Linked DNA regions of Homo sapiens: all the other regions are linked to region 2. The links are contacts of gene promoters, found by promoter capture Hi-C in human tissues and cell types (Jung and others, 2019). All regions are on one chromosome and are shown on one strand. The core of a region is centred on a gene start or on the middle of the fragment in contact, and the rest is flanking DNA. Distances in the headings are between cores, read along the strand shown. Region 1 overlaps HADHA (hydroxyacyl-CoA dehydrogenase trifunctional multienzyme complex subunit alpha). Region 2 holds the start of HADHA (hydroxyacyl-CoA dehydrogenase trifunctional multienzyme complex subunit alpha). Region 3 overlaps LOC105374334 (a long non-coding RNA gene).

Evidence for each region. The method cuts DNA at HindIII sites, captures the fragments that hold promoters and counts their contacts. A contact is called where the count stands out against the background at its distance.
Region 1: a contact is called between a fragment that was not itself captured here and the fragment with the promoter of HADHA in region 2, in 3 of the 25 tissues and cell types used here (aorta, dorsolateral prefrontal cortex and spleen).
Region 3: a contact is called between a fragment that was not itself captured here and the fragment with the promoter of HADHA in region 2, in 1 of the 25 tissues and cell types used here (spleen).

The regions. Positions count from the first base shown.
Region 1 is chr2:26,192,028-26,195,816 of GRCh38, reverse strand. HADHA (hydroxyacyl-CoA dehydrogenase trifunctional multienzyme complex subunit alpha) reads left to right here. Exons shown (of 20, transcript NM_000182.5): 15 at 585-725; 16 at 1,179-1,247; 17 at 2,045-2,240; 18 at 3,393-3,507. It also overlaps a transcript of GAREM2 not described here. Among named protein-coding and RNA genes, the nearest start is that of GAREM2, 21 kb to the right of the region's middle. The HindIII fragment of the contact is 5,401 bases long and covers 1-3,789 here.
Region 2 is chr2:26,242,009-26,246,247 of GRCh38, reverse strand. HADHA (hydroxyacyl-CoA dehydrogenase trifunctional multienzyme complex subunit alpha) reads left to right here and starts at 1,616. Exons shown (of 20, transcript NM_000182.5): 1 at 1,616-1,718. The coding sequence starts at 1,652. It overlaps HADHB (hydroxyacyl-CoA dehydrogenase trifunctional multienzyme complex subunit beta), which reads right to left and starts at 1,309. Exons shown (of 16, transcript NM_000183.3): 1 at 1,258-1,309. RefSeq lists enhancers at 1-281, 1,140-1,239, 1,094-1,774, 3,260-3,800. The HindIII fragment of the contact is 15,994 bases long and covers 1-4,239 here.
Region 3 is chr2:26,301,160-26,305,126 of GRCh38, reverse strand. LOC105374334 (a long non-coding RNA gene) reads right to left here. Exons shown (of 4, transcript XR_939853.3): 1 at 1,005-3,967. Among named protein-coding and RNA genes, the nearest start is that of SELENOI, 43 kb to the left of the region's middle. The HindIII fragment of the contact is 3,170 bases long and covers 559-3,728 here.

The sequences.
Region 1 (3,789 bases), core at 538-3,037, 51 kb after region 2:
CTGAGAATGTGCAGGCCTAACGCTCCCAGGTGATGACAGTGCTTGTTGGGTCCGGGTACTACACTTGGAGAACTGCTGGTTTAATGAGTCTTAAGTGCATCTGACTGTTGAGGAGTGTTAGTTAAACCTAGTATCCTGGTGGTGAGACCCATCTGTGTAAAATGCAAATACTTCTCTGACAGCCCAACACATTAATTCTTCTGCCTGCCCCACCCCCGCCCAAAAAAACTGGATCCTCTTATCTAAACCATCAGTATCATTAATATAAGTGGAACCTTCATCCGTCGTTCCCCAATAAATCTAGTTTGGCCTCGAGCTGTGGTTTTGGCACTGATTGTTGGGAGGATCAGATGTCTGTAGTGAAAAACCTTAGAAGCAAATGGAAGAGGAGGATTCCAATGTGCTCTCCCTAAACATACTAAACTTTTATCAAAGACCCATGGAACCAAACCACTCAGCTATGTCAAGCAGTATTCCTATATCACAGCCACCTTTCTTTCTAGTGTTTTCCTAGCAGAGAAGGAATGCTCTCAGGTTCCTCACCCGCATTCTCCGATCTGTTGGCTTTTGGTTCCCCTTGCCAGGTGATTGGCATGCACTACTTCTCTCCCGTGGACAAGATGCAGCTGCTGGAGATTATCACGACCGAGAAAACTTCCAAAGACACCAGTGCTTCAGCTGTAGCAGTTGGTCTCAAGCAGGGGAAGGTCATCATTGTGGTTAAGGTAAGGGGCTGTATAACAGAGCTGCAGAGTTTTTGAAAAGTTCTAATAAGACTCCTTTTACCTCCAGGCTTGTTTATAAATATTCTGGGGCAAATGACCAGACTTTGATATGATTTTCCCCTGGGTTGTCTCCAGGATGGACGGTGGTATTGACTGTCCCACTGAGTCAAGGTGGGAGTGGGGAGTATCTAGGATGTGGCAGGGTTCTCCCAGCCATCCCAGACCTTGAAGGTGACCATGAAACTATCTGCTGTACTGTTTGATTCAAGCCAGGCTACCCCTAGTACGGCTTCCCCTGCAATTTCATTTTTAAGGATTCTGATTGAGATTTTAAGTCACCTTAAGTTTTACAGTGACTTTCAAATGACTTTGAAGTGACCCTGGGAAAGGTAGAGTGTTTCAGACTCAGTCCCAGCAGCAGGGCCAGGGAGCTCATGTTCTCTTCCTTGGCAGGATGGACCTGGCTTCTATACTACCAGGTGTCTTGCGCCCATGATGTCTGAAGTCATCCGAATCCTCCAGGTTGGTATTGCTCTCCAGAGTGTTTGCGGCATCTTCCACTCCTTCAGTCACTCTAAAACTCATGATGTCAAGATAAGGACCAAGCTTCCTTCTGATACACCAACTCCTGCTCTTGTCTAGGAAGGTCCCTGGTGCCCTCTCTCTGCACAGCAGTCGGAAGTTGGGCTTATACTGCACTGAAAGGGGCAGAGCTTTCCCTCTGCCCCACAGCCTCCTCACTGTTCCAGCAAGCTAAAGGCACCCCACCCCCCAGCATGTCTTCTATGCTGTTTCTGCACCTCTCTGAGGCAGGGACCATCCAGAACAGGGCCCGCTTGGTTCAACTGGTGCTGCATCTGTTTCCACAGCACACAGACCTCTCCAGTAGCCATCGAGGTCATTCTGGCAGGAAAGGAGAGGGATCCTCCTCGCTGGGCACTTACCCAGACTTGGGGATCACAGGGCTCTGAGTGCTCCTCTTTGATGATGTTTCTTCTGTTGGTCATGACACACTCAGCCGTCTGTCATGCAATCTCCTTATTATTGAGATTCAGAAATGCAAACAAGAAGAAAATGAAGAATTTAGTCATCTCTAAACGTCCTTAAAGTGCTGTAGATTAGAGAAGGCTCAGACTTTCCACTTGTGGCCCCAAACTTCTTTGTGCTTCCCTGAATGAAATAGCACCAGTCCTGGGCCTGGTCAGGTGACACTCAGAAGTGGGTTTTACACAAGGCAGTGTTTGGAGCCAGTACAGGGAGCCCTTTGGGGGGATTTGGGCTGCCCTTCCCCTGAGGTCCCTGCATCGCTTCCTGTTCAGGAAGGAGTTGACCCGAAGAAGCTGGATTCCCTGACCACAAGCTTTGGCTTTCCTGTGGGTGCCGCCACACTGGTGGATGAAGTTGGTGTGGATGTAGCGAAACATGTGGCGGAAGATCTGGGCAAAGTCTTTGGGGAGCGGTTTGGAGGTGGAAACCCAGAACTGCTGACACAGATGGTGTCCAAGGGCTTCCTAGGTGAGTAGCCTCAAGGAAACATAACTAGCACCATTAGTTACAAAGTTCTAAGCAGTTCCTGAGACCAAAGAGTTACAGAAGCCCTCGTGGAAGAAAGTTTTCTAAACACAGAGCCCTTATCACTGGCGATTTCAAAAATGATTTTATGAGTCAGGTGCGGTAGCAACCACTTATGGTCTTAGCTGCTTAGGAGGCTGAGGTGGGAGGATCGCTTGAGCCCAGAAGTGTGAGGCCAGCCTGGGCAACATGGCGAGGCCCCTTCTCAAAAAAAAAAAAAAAAAAAGATGTCATGTGAACCTTCTAAGGGCTAGGACTATAGATTATGGACAAAAGGCAGAGTTCTACCCTTCTGGGGCTCTAGCATCACCTGGTCCAAGTTATGCCAGATGGACAAGCATTTTTATCCCCCAGAGATGAAATCTGCAATAGTGCAGAAGCAAGCTCTGCATCCGGGCTTTACCATGCTGTCTGGCCACCTGTGAGGAGAATGTATAAGCTCACCATACACAGTATACAGTTGAGGCCCACAGAGAAGTGACTTTCTGTCTTGGCAAAACAGCAAAATCAGCATTACAACCTGGGTGTTCTAGGACCCGGTGCTGCATATGGGGATGTTAAAACTCACCCAGGTGGCCTTTCTCATCCATGTACACAGATGCCCAAGCTCCGGGTCACAAGATCTTCTTTCCTTCTCTGCCCACTCTTCTGACAAAGACTAATTTGCTAGGGTTAGCTAGACATACAAATTCAGGAATTCAGAAGAGGCCAGAGCTTTATAATAGACCAACAGAGACAAGAATTCTCAGGTCAGGGTCTTTTTTGTTTGTTTTTTGTTTTTTTTTGAGACAGAGTCTCACACTGTTGCCCAGGCTGGAGTGCAGTGGCATAATCTCGTCTCCACCTCCCGGGTTCAAGCGATCCTCCTGCTTCGCCCAGCTAATTTTTGTATTTTTAGTAGAGATGGGGTTTCACCATGTTGGCCAGGCTGGTCTCAAACTCCTGACCTCAAATGATCCTCCGCCTCGGCCTCCCAAAGTGCTGGGATTACAGGCGTGAGCCACCACGCCTGGCCAGGCCAGGGTTCTGAGAACAAATAGTAACACTCCCTCCCTGAGAACAAATAGTAACACTCCCTTTTCTTGCCTGTTTTAGGTCGTAAATCTGGGAAGGGCTTTTACATCTATCAGGAGGGTGTGAAGAGGAAGGATTTGAATTCTGACATGGATAGTATTTTAGCGAGTCTGAAGCTGCCTCCTAAGTCTGAAGTGTAAGTCCGTTTGAGTGGCTAATGCCTGGAAATTGACTTTCTCTGACAGCCCAAAGCTTCCCAGCCCCTCTTCCATTTTTTTTTTTTTTTAATACTTTAAGTCCTGGGATACATGTGCAGGTTTGTTACATAGGTATACACGTGCCATGGTGCTGTCTTCCATTTTCTTTGTGACCACCATACCTGAACAGGAGGACCACTCCTGATGCTGGCATGGTGCTTTCCAAGTGGAAGGCCCTCGCACGTGCTCCTTGGTCTCTGCCCAGCATCTAGGTGAGAACC
Region 2 (4,239 bases), core at 367-2,866:
CAAAATTTACCACTTCTGACCTAAATAATAAGTGTTACACGCAGTTAGGTGTTGAAGAAAGCATTACATGGGCAGGAGGCAGGCTCTGAACTGTAAAAACCTTGTAAGATTATCAAGAATCCTTTTTGCAATTTATTCAGAAGTGGTCAGGTCATCCAGTTTCTGCTTAAAGTGCTCACATGATGAGCACTCACTATGCAACTTGAGCTTTAAACAGAAACCTCTCTACTCTGTCTCTATACTCATTTCAGTCTTAACTTCGATGCCCCTTGTTTCCTGTCCTGCAGAGCTGTCAGTCTGGCGAGTAGTGAGACTCAGACTTATGTCTGAATGCTAGGTCTGTCACAGACTAGAAAATGTATATATTCTGAGCTTCCCAAACTTCATCTAGAAAATGCAAATGATAATAATTTGGGGAATGTGAGGACTAAACAAAAAGGTATGAAGGTGACCAGAGCACAGCAGGCTCTCAATGTGACTTCCTTTTGAAATCAATCACTTTATTCCAGGACTCCAGCCCATCATTCCAGCACAAAAACAGCTACCATGCAATGAAGAACTCTTCACTAGGAGTTAGTAGACTTAGGCTCCAGTCTTATTTCTACTACATATGGCCATGGGTAAAATCACTCTCTCTGATTCGTAGGCAGTTTCTTCACCGCTTAAGTGAGCTGAGGTGTGAACGACCAGATAGATAATCATCCAGATCGGAAAACCCCCGAGAGCGCAGGATTATCTGGATAACGGAGCCGGATGGAGGATTGTCTCCGTTCCTCCCACACTCAAGCCCCGAAAGGTCACCTGACCTAGTCTTATTCTTTACAGCAGAAATCGGGCAAACCCATGGCGCCGTCCACAATCTCTATAGCCGCCGACCTGGGTACAGGGGAAGCAGGCGAAACAACACACACTTCTACGCAGACCAGGGTTACATTAAGGCCGACGCCCACACACGCCCACACACACCCACACACACACACACACCCCCACACCCCCAGACTTCGTTAACTTGTGATGATAAATTAGGGCGCAGGTGACACTACTGTCCCGAACTTCAGCTGGAACGCTAGTCCAAGTCACTGTCCTAACTGCAGCTAGCACTGCCGACCTTGTCCGAGGAGTTTCCTTCCGCTCCCTCAACTCCCACTTTCCCAGGGAGGGGAGGGGGCCGGGGGCACCGGCGACAGTTGCGGGGAAGGAAGTGGAATCTCGCCTTTGGGAAAGCCCGGGCGGAGAGCTGAGGGCTCGCCGTCTCACCTTGGCTGACGTCCGCGAGGACTCCCTCTCGGAGCAAGGTTCAGGTCCAAGTACCAAGGCTCTGCGGGACCAAGGGGCGGGTCCTGCCCAGAAAGGGCCCCTCACCCCGCGGGCGGTCAGGGCCGTTCTTGAGGGCTGCCCTCCGGCCGCCTGACTGGAAAACCAGGCACTCCACCCCCTCCTCTCCGGGCCCCCGTCCTCCCCCGGAGAATACGACCTTTCGGCCATGTTAGCCAGGAGCGAGGGGCAGGGCTAAGGGGCCGGCGGCCACTCGGCATCTGGGTTTTAGTCAGGCAGTGCTCCAGGCGCCTGGCTGCCAGGCTACGGGAGAAAAGTCCTCCGCTCGGCCGCACCCGTTAGAGGCGCTCTCCACTGCTGTCCTCTTCAGCTCAAGATGGTGGCCTGCCGGGCGATTGGCATCCTCAGCCGCTTTTCTGCCTTCAGGATCCTCCGCTCCCGAGGTGAGGCCTGGCCGAGGGCATCCCAGACCTCCGGGCAGAACTCCTGCCGGGACTGGGGTGGCCCCGGAGCCGCGTCTCCCTTTCGCTGCCGCCTGCCCCAGCCCGGAGACGCAGCCCTCTGTGGGGATACTGCCCTGGGACCCGGTTTCCCGTGACCTTCTGAAGAGACTGTCACTTCCCCTCTCACGACTCCTGCGGCGATTTCAGGCTTCCTAACTCCCCAACTTTCTGAGTCTGGTGCCACTCGTTCTGTCACCTTTCCGCGGGTCTCTTGCGTCGCACTTCTGGGCTCACGCCCCTCATATTTTCTTGATCCGGAGTTCCAGGAGAATCGGGATCCATTCTGTCGCATCTTTGTGGCTCCACAGCACCTTGCCCCGCAACAAGAGCTGTCTTAAAAACAGCACCTTACCCCGCAACAAGCGCTGTCTTGTATGGGATTAATCAGCCTTGCAGATCACTGCCCCTCCCTGCTCCGTTCCCTCAAAACCATTTTTGTGCTTACTACCCCAATCAAGTAGGGAGCTCAACTCTTGCAGTTTCAGTAATGTCAGTGTGAACGTATAGTATTTTGAATTTCAGCGGGAAGTTCTGCAACTTACTGGAAGACACACTTTAAAAATACGCTAATACCTCTACCTTAAGCAATAAAATGTTAGATCGTTCTGAGAACGATTTGTAATCTGATGATTCCCAGTCAGCCTGTATTAGCTAGTGTTTTTCCTTTTCAAACTGGCAGTGAAAGGGTTAAAGTGGGTGGTTGTAGGAAACGTTGCATTTTCTTTCCATCCCAAATCTGTAAAGTCAAAAGTGGACAACGTTTTATTGCATGTTGTGCTTAATAAGTTACTTAACTAGAAATTTTAACTTTTAATTTAATTTGTAATATGAATTACCTCTCTTCCCTCTTCCGGAACCGCTGAAGTAGTATGCTTTTTTTAGACAAGTAGCTGAAATCCCTTACTGTAAGGGGATTTTTTTAATGATTGAATATTTTTCTGCTCCCTTTTTTCAACAGCTGTTTTTAGTCTCCACAAAACTGTAGCATGTATTTGCCAATTATAACATAAGCACATTATAGAACATTGAAATGCTGTAAGGATTGAGGAAAGAGATGAAAAAAAAACGAATCACCCATTGTCTTACTACTCATATGCTTACCTACGGTTAGCCTTCGGTTATGTTTCCTTACAGGTTTGGTGGTTTTTTTCCCCTATTTTCACAACACTTTTGAAAAGTAACGTGTAATTTTTATCTTACCCCTGCATTGGTTTGAAGGTATTTCTTATGGATCGGCAGCTGATGTCACTCGGAAGTGGTAGCCAGGGCACGTGGTTCTAGTCACTAGCTGTGTTACTTTGGACAAATGCCTTAAACTAAATGGGCTTTATTTTCCTCATCTGCAAAATGAATGATTGAGATGATGGATTTCCTTTGCATGAGAAGTAGCATGACAGAGCAATTAATAAACATTGTTTGGGCCGGGTGCGGTGGCTCACGCCTGTAATCCCAGCACTTTGGGAGGCCCAGGCGGGCGGATCACGAGGTCGGGAGATCGAGACCATCCTGGCTAACACGGTGAAACCCCGTCTCTACTAAAAATACAAGAAATTAGCCGGACGTGTTGGTGGGCGCCTGTAGTCCCAGCTACTCGGGAGGCTGAGGCAGGAGAATGGCGTGAGCCCGGGAGGCGGAGCTTGCAGTGAGCCGAGATCGCGCCACAGCACTCCAGCCTGGTCCTCCGTCTCAAAAACAAACAAACAAACAAAAAAAACATTGTTTGGAGTCTGACTTCTGGGTTTGGACCTGGCTCTGCCTTTTACCCTCTGATGACCTTGGGCAATTAATTTCTGTGTTTGTTTTCTCATTTGTAAAATGGGGAATAATACCACCTTGTGTGATGAAAAGGAGTTATTTTAGATATCAAGCAGTTTTTCATGGAGTAAGCACTCAGTAAATATTATTAACTCCAGCCTGGAAGAAATACGATTGTATATATCTGAGAGTTTTTAAAAGTAATTTGTACATCTTATGTGTGTAATAAAAAGCTACCAACCTAATTTTTCTGTTTTCTGTATAGAAATATATAGACACATAAATATATACTTTGCATTGTGTTTTCACCAGTAAGAAAGTATCATTCGTTGTAGTTACTGATCCCTTAATAGCAATTTATAAATTTTGAAAAAAAGTCTGGAAAGTGAATTTAAAATGACCTGCACCCTTATATTACTATTTAGACTCAATAGATCCTTCACAGTAAAAGTCTGTGCAAGGCTTTGCCAAACATTTAATGAGATTATGACCTTTGCTGGTGGATGATAAAATTCTCTTGAAAGGGGCCAGGCACGGTGGCTCATGCCTATAATCCCAGTATATTGGGAGGCCAAGGCGGGCAGATCACTTGAGGTCTAGCCTGGCCCACATGGTGAAACCCCATCTCTACCAAAAAATACCAGAATTGGCCAGGTGTGGTGGCACACGTCTGTAATCCCAACTACTCGGGAGGCTGAGGTGGGAG
Region 3 (3,967 bases), core at 894-3,393, 58 kb before region 2:
CTCCTACTGCCTCTGTGAAAGCTTTTTTTTTTTTTTTTACTCAGGCGATACAGTACTTTTCAATTACGGAGGTTTTAAACAACCAAACACTGGTTGAGGCTGTTGGTTCACTGGCAGGGTTAGGCGAAGTAAAGTTATCTTGTGGCATTACTTTTTTTGCCTCTCATGGCCACTGGTCCCCTATATTAGTTTCTCCGCATACATAGCATAAGGAAATTTCCAAGCTGCCAGATATGTTTTTAGCTAGTTGAGCAAGTAAATTTTTGGTTGATGGGAAAGCTCAGGCACTGACTGATCAAAATGTTTATAGAATGACTTATGGACCCGGAATTGTGGGGTTGGACACATTTGAATCCTTCTAGTCTTTTTGACAATTAGTAGTGGAACTCCAAGGCCTACTCCTTGTCTATCAACTCATAATAGTGCTGTCTGTCCTGTAGACCAAAAAGGTAGCTCTGGCTTTAAGATAGTAAAATTTAAAGGATTGCATGTTCTTGCCTTACAATTTGGTTTGGTTGACATACTACTTAGCAGAGCAATCCTTCCTGAATATAAGTGTTGGAGATGTGTTAGTGTAGACCACCGAATGTTACAGTCTGGGCATCCGATTTGTAGCTCTCCGTACAGGTGTTTAGGGCTGCTCTTGCTAAGCCTCTCTTGTGTTAAACCATTGCAGACTGTTTCTGGTTGTATGTGTAGGTTTCTAACTTGGTTCCTGTACATTTATAGTAGGTATGGTACAGTAGAGTTTTAACTACGCTATTCCTTACCCAGATAGTATGTACACAGTGTGGACATCCTTCTAGAGATTTCTCCCCTTCTAGTATAGGCAGAAATGGTAACGACAACAGTGTATGTAATAGAAACATGCCTATACTATACATGGGCATGGCAAACCTTCCTCTGGGCATAGACATTTGCAGCATTTGCAATGATAACATAACAGCAGAGCAATCAGTGTTGACAGAATTGTAAGTAGGCTTATAAATTGTATCCACATTTACTTATCCGGATATGGTCCTCTTAGCTTCGACTGTGCGTAGACTAGTCAGCTTCCAGGATGTGACTAGAGCAGAGCTTGCAGGATCCTCAAGCTTCAGCCGTGCATAGACTGACCATCCTCCGGTGTGGTCAGAGCAGGCCAGTTGTCCTTCTTACCGGTGGTTGGGTTTCGCCGTAGGACTATTCAGGTGGGGCGATCTGGGTCTTGTTGGTTAATCCACTGGTTATCATCGGGAGTCTCTGTTGCCACTGGTTTCTGCTGGCTATGGTGAATCCAAGGTGTGACACCTGCAACTTTAACAGCAGTGGAAGCAGACATGATTACAATACGAGACCTATCCTGTATGGGTCCCAGAATGGTTGGATTCCATTATTTTAGCTTAAACAAAATCCTTAGGTTTGAAAGGGTGTACTGGGTCTGTTAGACTTATAGGCATTTTTCTATACCCAGTCATGCATTCTTACATGGCCATACTTAAAGTCTGCATTTGCCTTCTTAAAGTTAGTTCTTCTAGTTTACAGAGATTACCTTTAATCTGTCTTATGATGGGTGGGTGGGTGGCCGGCCGAAAAAAATCTCAGAGGGCGAATACCCAGTTTGTTTGGTGGAGGTGCACCTGACTTGGAGGAGGACCATGGGCAAGACCTGATCCTACTTTTGATGAGTTTTTTTGACACAATTTCTTCAGTAGCTGTTTGAGTGTCTGGTTCATGCGTTCCACCTTCCCTGAACTCTGTGGTCGATAGGCTGTGTGCAGTTTCCATTTGATCTTTAAAAGTTGAGTTAGCTGTTGTACAACTTCTGCCACAAATGCAGGACCGTCGTCTGATCCTAGGGTTAGAGGCGACCCAAACCTTGGTATGATGTCTTTCAGTAGCACCTTTGTCACCTCTTGTGTCTTTTTAGTTCCGGTGGGGAAGGCCTCAACCCACCCCGAGTAGGTGCAAACAAACACTAGCATATACTGGTAACCTCCTGCTCAAGGCAACTCGGTAAAGTCTATAAGCAGGTTCTCACAAGGCACAGCTCCTACTTCCTGAATTCCTGGAGGTTGAGTAGGTCCTCGTTTTGGATTACTCCGGGCACAAGATAGACATTGTTCACAAACAGCACGGGTCATGGCAGACAGCCATGGCACATAGAGATGCCAACCTATCCAAGTCTCTAGAGCTGTCCTTCCAATGTGTGTTCCTTGATGGATCTGCTTCACAAACCTTGGGGCTATTGTCTCTGGGATGGCTAGCCTCCTGTCAGAGCCACCATCCACCTTTAATATATTTTTTTGTTTCCTGACCAAACCAAGCTGTTTCACTTGAAGAGTAATTGGGTACCTCCGGCAAAGGGGGCTCTATAAGGAGAGGCGTTGCTATAGGTCTTTCTTCAGGTAAAGCCTTGCTCATTGATGCCCGCAGAGCCTCTAGGTCTGCCTTTCTGTTGCCCTGTGATTCATAGCTTTTTTCCATTTAGTGTTCTTTGCAATGAATGACAGCCACCTTTTCTGGAGCCTATATGGCTTCTAATAATTGCAAAATTTCCTCTTTATTTTTTTTTTTAATTTTTTTTCCTTTAGTAGTCAAAAGTCCTCTCTCTTTGCATGTTGCCCCATGGGCATGCAGGGTTGCAAAAGCATATCTTGAATCAGTATATATATTTACTTTCTTCCCCTTGTCCAATAACAGTGATCCGGTTAATGCTATTAATTCAGCCTTCTGAGCAGAAGTCCCAGAAGGTAAGGCTTGAGCCTCAACTGCTGAGTGTTGGGTCACTACGGCATACCCTGCATATCGTACCCCATCTGTTATGAAACTGCTACCATCAGTGAAGTATTCAACATCTGGGCTCTCCAAGGAGGATATCTCTGAGATCTTCCTGGCTCGAGAACACTTCATCCACCGTATTTAGGCAACAGTGGAGAAGGTCCTGCCAGCAGCGAGGCAACCTACCGTCCTTCCAGTCGGGTTCCTCCACAGGCAGCAGGGGAACTGGGTTCAAGGTATTTACAGTCTCCAGTGTTATCTGGGGATTTTTACACAGAAGCCCTTGATACTTTAGCATTCTAGAGTTGGACAGCCAATGATGTCCTCTTTGCTCCATTAAGGTGACTACAGCATGTGGCACCCGAACTATTAACTTCTGACCTAGGGCTAGCTTGTTGGCATCTTTTAGAAGGATTGCAGTAGCTGCCAACGCCCTGAGGCAGTGGGGCCAACCTAAGGCCACCAAGTCCAGTCTCTTGGATAAGTGTGTTACCGGCCGATGCTAAGAGCCCAGCTGAGTTACGACTCCGACTGCCATTCCCTTTCGTTTATTCACATACAAAAAAAGGGCTTTTTAATATCTGGCAACCTTAGCGCCGGGGCTTGGATGAGAGCTTCGTTTATATCTTTGAAGGCCTTTTCCTATTCCTTTTCCCATAGGAGGGGCTCTCTTTCTTTTCCTTTGGTAGCCTCATATAAGGGCTTTGCTATAAGGGAGAAGTTTGGAATCCAGATTCGGCAGAATCCCGCCGCACCTAGAAATTCCCTGACCTGTGGGTGGGCAATGCACCTACAGCCTCCTTGCGTGCACTTCCAAGCCTGCACTGGCCTTGGGATACCATGAATCTTAGCTATCCAACCTGCTGAAAAAAGACTTTTGCCTTGTCCTTGGACACTTTGTAAACTGGCCTGTATTCACCATTTGGCTTCTGCACAGGCAGCAGAGGAGTATTCCAGGAGGACTTGCATTTCAGTATAATCCTATGTTCACAGAGCCGATTTAAATGTTTCGTTATGCCATCAATTGCCTCTCTGGGTAGTGGGTATTGACGGACTTGTACCGGGGAACATAAGGGCTAAGCTCTACTACGACCGGGGGTCTGTTTGCAGCAAGTCCAGGGAGGTTGTGCTCGGTCCATACACCTGGTACCTTGAAAAGCATTCCCCGCATATTGTGTAGGTCCGCCTCCAGTGGCCTTCTGGCACA